Regions from separate parts of the Homo sapiens genome. Here region 2 is linked to region 1. Evidence: promoter capture Hi-C in 16 types of primary human blood cells and fetal thymus (Javierre and others, 2016). All regions are on one chromosome and are shown on one strand. Each heading gives the region's core, a stretch centred on a gene start or on the middle of the fragment in contact. The rest is flanking DNA. Distances are from core to core; before and after follow the strand shown. Region 1 holds the start of NDUFA2 (NADH:ubiquinone oxidoreductase subunit A2). Region 2 overlaps HDAC3 (histone deacetylase 3).

Region 1 (4,142 bases), core at 868-3,367:
AGCCTGGCCAACATAGCGAAACCCTGTCTCTACTAATACAAAAATTAGCCAAGCATGGTGGGGCATGCCTGTAATCCCAGCTACTGGGGAAACTGAGGCAGAAGAATTGCTTGAGCCCAGGAGGCAAAGGTTGCTGTGAGCAGAAATAATGCCATTGAACTCCAGCCTGGGCAACGGGAGGAAAAGATATGCCAAAAAAGGTAACTGTGGTTACTTCTAAGAAAAGGACTGAGGCTGGGCACGGTGGCTCACGCCTGTAATGCCAGCACTTTAGGAGGCTGAGGCGGGTGGATCACTTCAGGCCAGGAGTTCAAGACCAGCCTGACGAACACAGTGAAACCCTGTCTCTACTAAAAATACAAAAAAAAAAATCAGTCGTGCATGGTGGCACATGCCTGTAGTCCCAGCTACTTGGGAGGCTGAGGCAGGAGAACCGCTTGAACTCAGGAGGCAGAGGTTGCAGTGAGCCAAGATTGCATCACTGCACTCCAGCCTGGGTAACAGTGAGACTCCGTCTCAAAAAAAAAAAAAAAGAAAGAAAAGAAAAGAAAAGAAAAAAAAAAAGAAATGGACTGGAATTGGGGATGTTATCAAAGATGATTTTATCGGGGGCCAGGCACGGTGGCTCACGCCTGTACTCCCACCACTTTGGGAGGCAGAGGCGGGTGGATCACCTGAAGTCGGGATTTCAAGACCAGCCTGATCAACATGGAGAAACCCCATCTCTACTAAAAATACAAAATTAGCCGGGCGTAGTGGAACATGCCTGTAATCCCAGCTACTCGGAAGGCTGAGGCAGGAGAATTGCTTGAACCCGGGAGGCGGAGGTTGTGGTGAGCCGAGATCGCACCACTGCATTCCAGCCTGAGCAACAAGAGCGAAACTCAGTCTCAAAAAAAATAAAAAGATGATTTTACCCTTATTTCCTATGTTTTAATTTGCTATTGGAAGAAGTAATTCCTATATAATGTGTAATTACACAACACGTATAAAAAAAAAAAAAAACTTAACACCTTTCCTGCAGGAATTTCCCTTCTAATACCCTTATGCACTTGGCCTGATCCAGTTAAGGCTCACAGAGATAAAGGGCCAGCGGGTATAATTTTTTACCATCCTTGATGACAAGACATTCAGAATTCTTTCACCATCACCACCACTTTTCTATTCATTGCCCAACTCATTTCCATGGTCCTAGCACAAAATACTCACTGGTGGAAGGAGTGAGGATCATCCACATCGTGGCCATCGGGGGCCAAAGGGTTGGAGAACGGCTCACCTGACAAAAAAAATTGACGTTAATTTAATCAGTCTCTTACGTGTCAGATCCTATGCAAAAATTTGAGATATAGTAGTGAACAATACAGAACAAAAGTTAGAACAGCGACAGTGTCAACACAATGTAATAAGTGCTGAAATAGGAAACTACAAGAAGCTGTGGGAGCACAAAGCAGAGGACCCTAATCCTGCGCTGGAGGATCAGAGAAGACTTCCGGAAGATCACGTCTAAAATACTACGTAAAAGATAAATACGCGCAACCCAGGATTAAGTATGGGGACAGGACTGGGGGAAAGCGATCCACGCACAAAAGCCGCCCATCATCACTTGGAGTAGGAGTGAGGACTGGGGACGGAGTTTGGAGCTGTCGGCCTCACTTAGGACCCTGTGGCTTCTCCGGGCTCAAGCGTCACACATACATACATACACACACACACACACACACACACACACACACACACACCCGGCTTAAGCTCAGAAGCTACAATAATGCGCCAAGTGCCCCAAGTGCCATGGGGAAGAAATAACGGATGGCCTGAGCCTTACTATCTCGCTCCGGCATTTTGTTATCGTTCTTTCGCTGTCACCAACAATCGAGTCTCCAACAGCAACACCGCAGCGACAAGCTCTTTCCCACAGTGCACCTCAGAATCAACCCACACTGCTTTGCGTTCGCAGCCTTTCCGCTTCCTGTTTTTCCCTCCGACCAACCCCGAGCGCAAAGAAATTGACCTCGCAGCGGTCCTACAATACTTTTATATCATTGGCCAAGCTTTACCCCGCCCCTGCCTCATGCAGCCTATGGGCTAGGCTTTAGGGTCCGCGGTTGGTCAGACCGGAGCACTTGGCCTGAAGACCTGGAATTGGCGACTTCGATATTAACAAGGATGGCGGCGGCCGCAGCAAGTCGAGGAGTCGGGGCAAAGCTGGGCCTGCGTGAGATTCGCATCCACTTATGTCAGCGCTCGCCCGGCAGCCAGGGCGTCAGGTGAGGCGCGGCGTGGTGAGGCGGGCGGGCTTCGGGACGCCAGGGTCACGACCTCGACCTCCCTGAAGTTGAGGGAAGCCCCCGCCCACAGCACGCGCGGCGCTCTCTCCGGCCCCGCAGGGACTTCATTGAGAAACGCTACGTGGAGCTGAAGAAGGCGAATCCCGACCTACCCATCCTAATCCGCGAATGCTCCGATGTGCAGCCCAAGCTCTGGGCCCGCTACGGTGAGTGCGGGACGCCAGGGGTCTGGGGCTCCGGTAGGGGAACAAGGGTTTGAGAAGAGAAGGGACCGCCCAAGGTCGTGCAGAAACCCGTGGAGAAACTAGAACTCGGACTTTAGCCTTGCTGTTGATCTTGTTTCCATGAAGAAATTTATATTCGCAGGGTTATATGATGCGTTGTATTCCGGGCAACATAAGTATGCAGGCTGACCGAATCCTGCGTAGGGACCAGGAGCTGACGTTTTTGTAGTTAAGAATGGGCTTCAGACAGGAGAGAAGTTAGTCAATATAGTTTCTCCAAATAACGTGTAGCCAGTGTCAGTCCAGGTAGTGTGTGAGAATCTCAGTAATTTTGCACATAGAGCTGGGCCCTGTGCTGAGTGCTTCCCTGCCTAACTCATTTAATCTTCATTAGTTAGGAGGAAGCGTGTTCTTCTTTTCTCACTGTAGAGATTAGAAAACGGAATCAAAACTTTGTTTTGCACTATTGTTAAACTCTAGCTGCAACTTTAGATGCAGCTAGAGTTTAACAGGATTGAGCCTTTACATTTATTCCCCTTCCTAGAATGCACTTACCCCTCTAAGACTGGCATGGCAATGTATTGCAAAATGAAATTTTCCTATCATGTTGCCTAACACATTGTAGGTATGCAATAAATGTTTATACATACTGAATAACAGGATTTTAATCACAGCTTTTAACTATATGGTGCCCTGGGAATGACGGGAGGAGGTGGAGGAGAGTGACCACCTTAAGCAGATTGGTTCTCAGAGTAGATATCTGTGAGACACAGTAGACATTAGACATGCACTAATAATTGGAGAAGGAAAAAAGCTTCTCCTTCCAAAAGCCAGTAGACTACAGGAGGAGATAGACACGAGTAACTTTAGTGTATTGTGCTGGGTATTATGTTAGATAGCCTATGGGAGCCTAGAGAATGGGTACCCAGCTGGGTGCGGTGGTTCACGCCTGTAATCCCAGCACTTTGGGAGGCTGAAGCAGGTGGATCACCTGAGGTCAGGAGTTCAAGACCAGCCTGGCCAACATGGTAAAACCCCGTCTCTACTAAACATACAAAAATTAGCCGGGTGTGGTGGCGGGCACCTGTAATCCCAGCTACTCAGGAGGCTGAGGCAGGAGAATTGCTTGAACCCAGGAGGTGGAGGTTGCAGTGAGTGGAGATCGTGCCACCACACTCCAGCCTGGGTGACAGAGCGAGACTCCGTCTCAAAAAAAAAAAAAAAAAAAGAGAGAGAATGGGCTCCCAGCTGAGGCTGGACCCATGCAATACATTGCTCACCGTAGTTAATAATAAATGCCTACAGTGCCCCCGAAAGCTTCCCTGAAACAACCCATTGCGGCCATCCAGAATCAGCCAAAATTCTATTTGGACTTGGGCTTCCTAGATGTGTTTGAGACCTATTGTATTAATTCTAGGCATACCAAATGTATTTTGATCATATCTCTTTAATACTCTTCCTGTCTTAACAAGACTAAGATAAAGACAAAGATCTTTTATTTTACTTTGGTAGCCTCCAGGGTGCAGAATAGTTAAAGACACCTCCCTCTCTCTCTTCAGCATTTGGCCAAGAGACGAATGTCCCTTTGAACAACTTCAGTGCTGATCAGGTAACCAGAGCCCTGGAGAACGTT
Region 2 (4,142 bases), core at 505-3,004, 980 kb before region 1:
TTAAGACTTTTAATTTGTAGCTTTTCTGTCACCCCCTTGAATTTATTTCTTGAAGAAACCAGGTTGTTGATCCTGTAGAATTTCTTATGATAGCTACCATTTACTGAGTGCTTACTCTGCTAGGTATTATGCCAAGGGTTGCTGGTAAATCCACTTAATTCTCATACCAATCCTTAGATGTATTATAATAGACCTTTTTCTGATGTTATATATAAGTAAATTGAGGTTTGGGAATATCTAGGTAACTTAGCCGTAGTCACATAACTGGTCATTGGAGGGGGCATGATCCAGATCCCGGGTTTTTAAACCACTAATCTGTTTTCCTGAAAGATCTTAATGACAGAAGCAGCCAGGGCTGTAGGATAGAGGCCAACTCATTAGGCTGGCATTGGCACCTTTCCAACTTTATCCCTACACCTCAGCTGCACAGGATGCCTTCCTGGAATGCCCTTAGTTCTCTATTCAACCTCTTCAAGGCCTTCTCAGCCTTCACACCATCTCCATGAAACCTTTCTTGACCACACCAGCCCATAGAGCTCTGTCTTGCACACACTGCACTGCTCATTTGGTGTTCAGTCACATGCTGTTTGGGGAGGTTTCTTGTTTTTTTGTTAGTATTCCTGCTGTTATTTCTGAGCTCACTTTCTAGCTCTGTGAATACAGGGTCAGCCCTTACGCCACACTGGGGTCCCGTAGATGCTCTTTGTGCGATTAGGGAATGCTAATTAGAATACTATCTCTGGGCTATTTATGCTGCATCAGTCTTCCTGTCAAACAAGTTACAGTTGTGCTTATCTGTATTTCCGATGAGAATCAGGAATTTTTCTTCTGTTTAATGAATTTCTGATTGGTTTCAAAGTATTCTAACATAAGTAGCCAAATTGTACTATAGGCCTTTAAATGAAAAAAATAAAAAAGTAGTCCCAAGCCGGGCGCAGTGGCTCACGCCTGTAATCCCAGCACTTTCGGAGGCCGAGGCGGGTGGACCACCTAAGGTCAGGAGTTCAAGACCAGCCTGGCCAACATGGTGAAACCCCATCTCTACTAAAAATACAAAAATTAGTCATGTGTGGTGGCACGTGCCTGTAGTCCCAGCTACTCCAGGAGGCTGAGGCAGGAGAATTGCTTGAACCCGGGAGTTGGAGGTTGCAGTGACCTGAGATTGCACCACTGCACTCCAGCCTGGGCAACAGAGTGAGACTCTGTCTTAAAAAAAAAAAAAAAAAAAAATTCCAGACCTCTCCTTTTCACCCATAAATCCCTCTGCCCAGTGACAGCCACTTTCAGCTCCTTTCCCCTATGTCTTCTGGTATTTACCTTTGGATTTCTAAATAATAATATTAATTGACTGTTATTACTAATCTGTAATCCTTAGGTAATACCTGTTATATACTAGGTACTGTTCTAAGTGCTTTACAGCCATTAGCTTATTTAATCTCAACAACCCCTATGAAGCAGGGTCTATTATTGTTTCCTTTTACCGATGAGGACACTTAAGCACAGAAAGGTTAAACAGTTTGTACAACCTCACTATCATTAGTAGGTGTTAAAGAACCTAGGTAGTCTAGCTCCAGAATCGGTGCTTGTAATCATACTCCCCTCCTGTATTGTCTCTCATTGCTATTTCTTCGTCTGTCAATTTTAGGCATTATCTGTTAAGCTTTTAGTATGGGATATGAGCATTTAGTCTTCTTACACCATCACATTGGCTTCCTTTCCCCTTTCAGCTTCATAGTAATTTAAAAATAAATCAGTATTCTGTGTTTACATTATTATAACTCTGAAAGATTCATTTACTATCAAGCCAAATAGTGTAGTGTGATTTAATCTATTTTCTTCTAAAGCTTTTTGTTTTTCCTGGAGCTGACAATTGCATTATTTTTTCATTTGCTTAGTTTTCTGGTATTAATCACTAATTCTTTCCAAGCCTTTTGAGAAACTATAAAACCCTACAATTCTTGCTTGAACCCGGGAGGCGGAGGCTGCAGTGAGCCGAGATCGCACCATTGCACCCCAGCCTGGGCGACAGAGCAAGACCCCATCTCAAAAAACAAACAAACAAAAAACCCCTACAGTTCTGTTTTTCACATGGTCAAATGTATCAGCTGCACTATTTTTTTTTTTTGAGACCTAAAACTAGGGATTGCCTAAGCCTTTCCTTTTTAAAAAGTCAGGTTTATATAGGTATAACTTGCATACAGTAAAATTAACCTTTTTTAGGTGTAAGAGTTCTGAGAGGTTTGATAGAATATATCAAGGTATAGGGCCAGCGCCGATGGCTCACACCTGTAGTCCCAACAATTTGGGAGGCCAAGGCGGGAGGATCACTTAGGCCCAGGAGTTTGAGACCAGCTTGGGCAACATAGTGAGACCCTGTCTCTACAAAAAAAAAAAAAAAAAAGGTATCAAGGTACAGGAAATTTCCACTACCCAACAAAGGTCACTCACCCTTTTGTAGTTAATAACTTCTCTGCAACCTAGATCCAGCCAACTACTGATAAGATGTCTGTCCTTGTATTTTACCTTTTCCAGAATGTTACATAAATGGAGTCATACAGTAAGTAGGCTTTTGTGTCTGGCTTCAAGCCTTTACTTTTTATAAAGAATAACAATGGTAATAATTATAGCTGACATTTATTAAAGGCTGAGCGGATACTGTATACTGTGCTACAGGCTTTTCGTGGGTTATCTCATCACTGTTTCACATATGTAGGTATACAGTTCTTTCTTTAAAATATGTGACTGAAAAATATTATTGAACATTATGCTAAAATTTGTTACACTGAGAAGACTAAGAAAAACAGAGCTCATGTTTTCTTTCAACTGATTTCCTTTTTACATTGTACTTGAGTACCTGGAAGCTGCTTGCTTCTTTCCGCAGCTAGGATACAAACTCCCTGACAGTTAAGTGCTTCTTTACTTCCCATCCAGTGCCTTGCACAGGGCTTGGTACATGGTTTGGTCCAAAATATTTGTTGAATAAATTTGCAGATAGCCCACGTGTGTAGGAGAGGGAGAGAAGGTTCTTGAAAAATGGAGATTGGAGGAATCTAGGATGGGGAGGGAGATATGGGAAGGGCCCAGACAGAGGCAGGAGGGTTCCAACTTGTTCCTCTTCCCTGCAGCCCAGTGTTTCCCGGGCTCTTTGAGTTCTGCTCGCGTTACACAGGCGCATCTCTGCAAGGAGCAACCCAGCTGAACAACAAGGTGACATAGTCCCGAGTCCTGTTCTTCCTTTCCTCTGGATCCCTGGACTCGGGATTTAACCCTGATCCTGGGCTCCCAGCTTGAGGGGTGGGCAGGAAGGACTGTGACTTAGGTGTTTGTCTTTCAGATCTGTGATATTGCCATTAACTGGGCTGGTGGTCTGCACCATGCCAAGAAGTTTGAGGTGAGTGAGGAGGTGATGGGAAAGACAGTGGCCATCCTAGGGTAGGTGTTTAGGATGATGGTGGGGGGCAGCTGGGAGGGGAATTGCTCTTCTCTTTATGAGACCACTGTCTTGCCATAGGCCTCTGGCTTCTGCTATGTCAACGACATTGTGATTGGCATCCTGGAGCTGCTCAAGTAAGTAGCCCAGGAGGAGATGGGGGCAGTTACGGGATTCTTGGCTGAGGAGGTCTCTCAGTCTCAACCCTGACCTTGACCTCCCTCCTCCCTGATTAGCTTCTCCCAAGTTCTTGATGCTTTATTCAGGCTGCCTCTTCCACTGCTGCAGATTCCCTACTGCCTGCTCACATTTCAGCCTTCTCTGCATATCCCTCTCCTGTCCCTGCCTCTAGCCTCTAGGCTGGAGCCCCCAGTTGCCTTTAGGGAACTGGTGACATTAAGTTTCAGGTGACCAGGGCAGAAGCAGACTCTTCACAATTCGAGACCCGGTGTTTGAGAGGAGTGGGTTGGGGGGTTCACTTCTAGCTCAGACCCTGGCTTTGGCTTCCCTCTAGGTACCACCCTCGGGTGCTCTACATTGACATTGACATCCACCATGGTGACGGGGTTCAAGAAGCTTTCTACCTCACTGACCGGGTCATGACGGTGTCCTTCCACAAATACGGAAATTACTTCTTCCCTGGCACAGGTATGGGAATAGGGATTACTTTCCCCTTTGCACCCTTCAGCTCTTTACTATGAGTGCCTCCTTC

What was found. Contacts are between HindIII fragments. The CHiCAGO score rates a contact against its expected background, and 5 or more counts as called.
Region 2: a contact is called between a fragment that was not itself captured here and the fragment with the promoter of NDUFA2 in region 1, in 1 of 17 cell types (erythroblasts). The highest score is 5.5, in erythroblasts.

What each region holds. Positions count from the first base shown.
Region 1 is chr5:140,645,605-140,649,746 of GRCh38, reverse strand. It overlaps NDUFA2 (NADH:ubiquinone oxidoreductase subunit A2), which reads left to right and starts at 2,117. Exons shown (of 3, transcript NM_002488.5): 1 at 2,117-2,264; 2 at 2,385-2,491; 3 at 4,069-4,142. The coding sequence starts at 2,164. It overlaps IK (IK cytokine), which reads right to left and starts at 1,918. Exons shown (of 20, transcript NM_006083.4): 1 at 1,823-1,918; 2 at 1,210-1,276. The coding sequence starts at 1,838. It overlaps MIR3655 (microRNA 3655), which reads right to left and starts at 1,903; the gene lies at 1,821-1,903. It also overlaps a transcript of TMCO6 not described here. RefSeq lists enhancers at 1,844-2,379, 2,120-2,539. The HindIII fragment of the contact is 1,275 bases long and covers 2,051-3,325 here.
Region 2 is chr5:141,629,109-141,633,250 of GRCh38, reverse strand. HDAC3 (histone deacetylase 3) reads left to right here. Exons shown (of 15, transcript NM_003883.4): 4 at 3,126-3,207; 5 at 3,335-3,391; 6 at 3,512-3,567; 7 at 3,945-4,078. Among named protein-coding and RNA genes, the nearest start is that of HDAC3, 5.7 kb to the left of the region's middle. The HindIII fragment of the contact is 184 bases long and covers 1,663-1,846 here.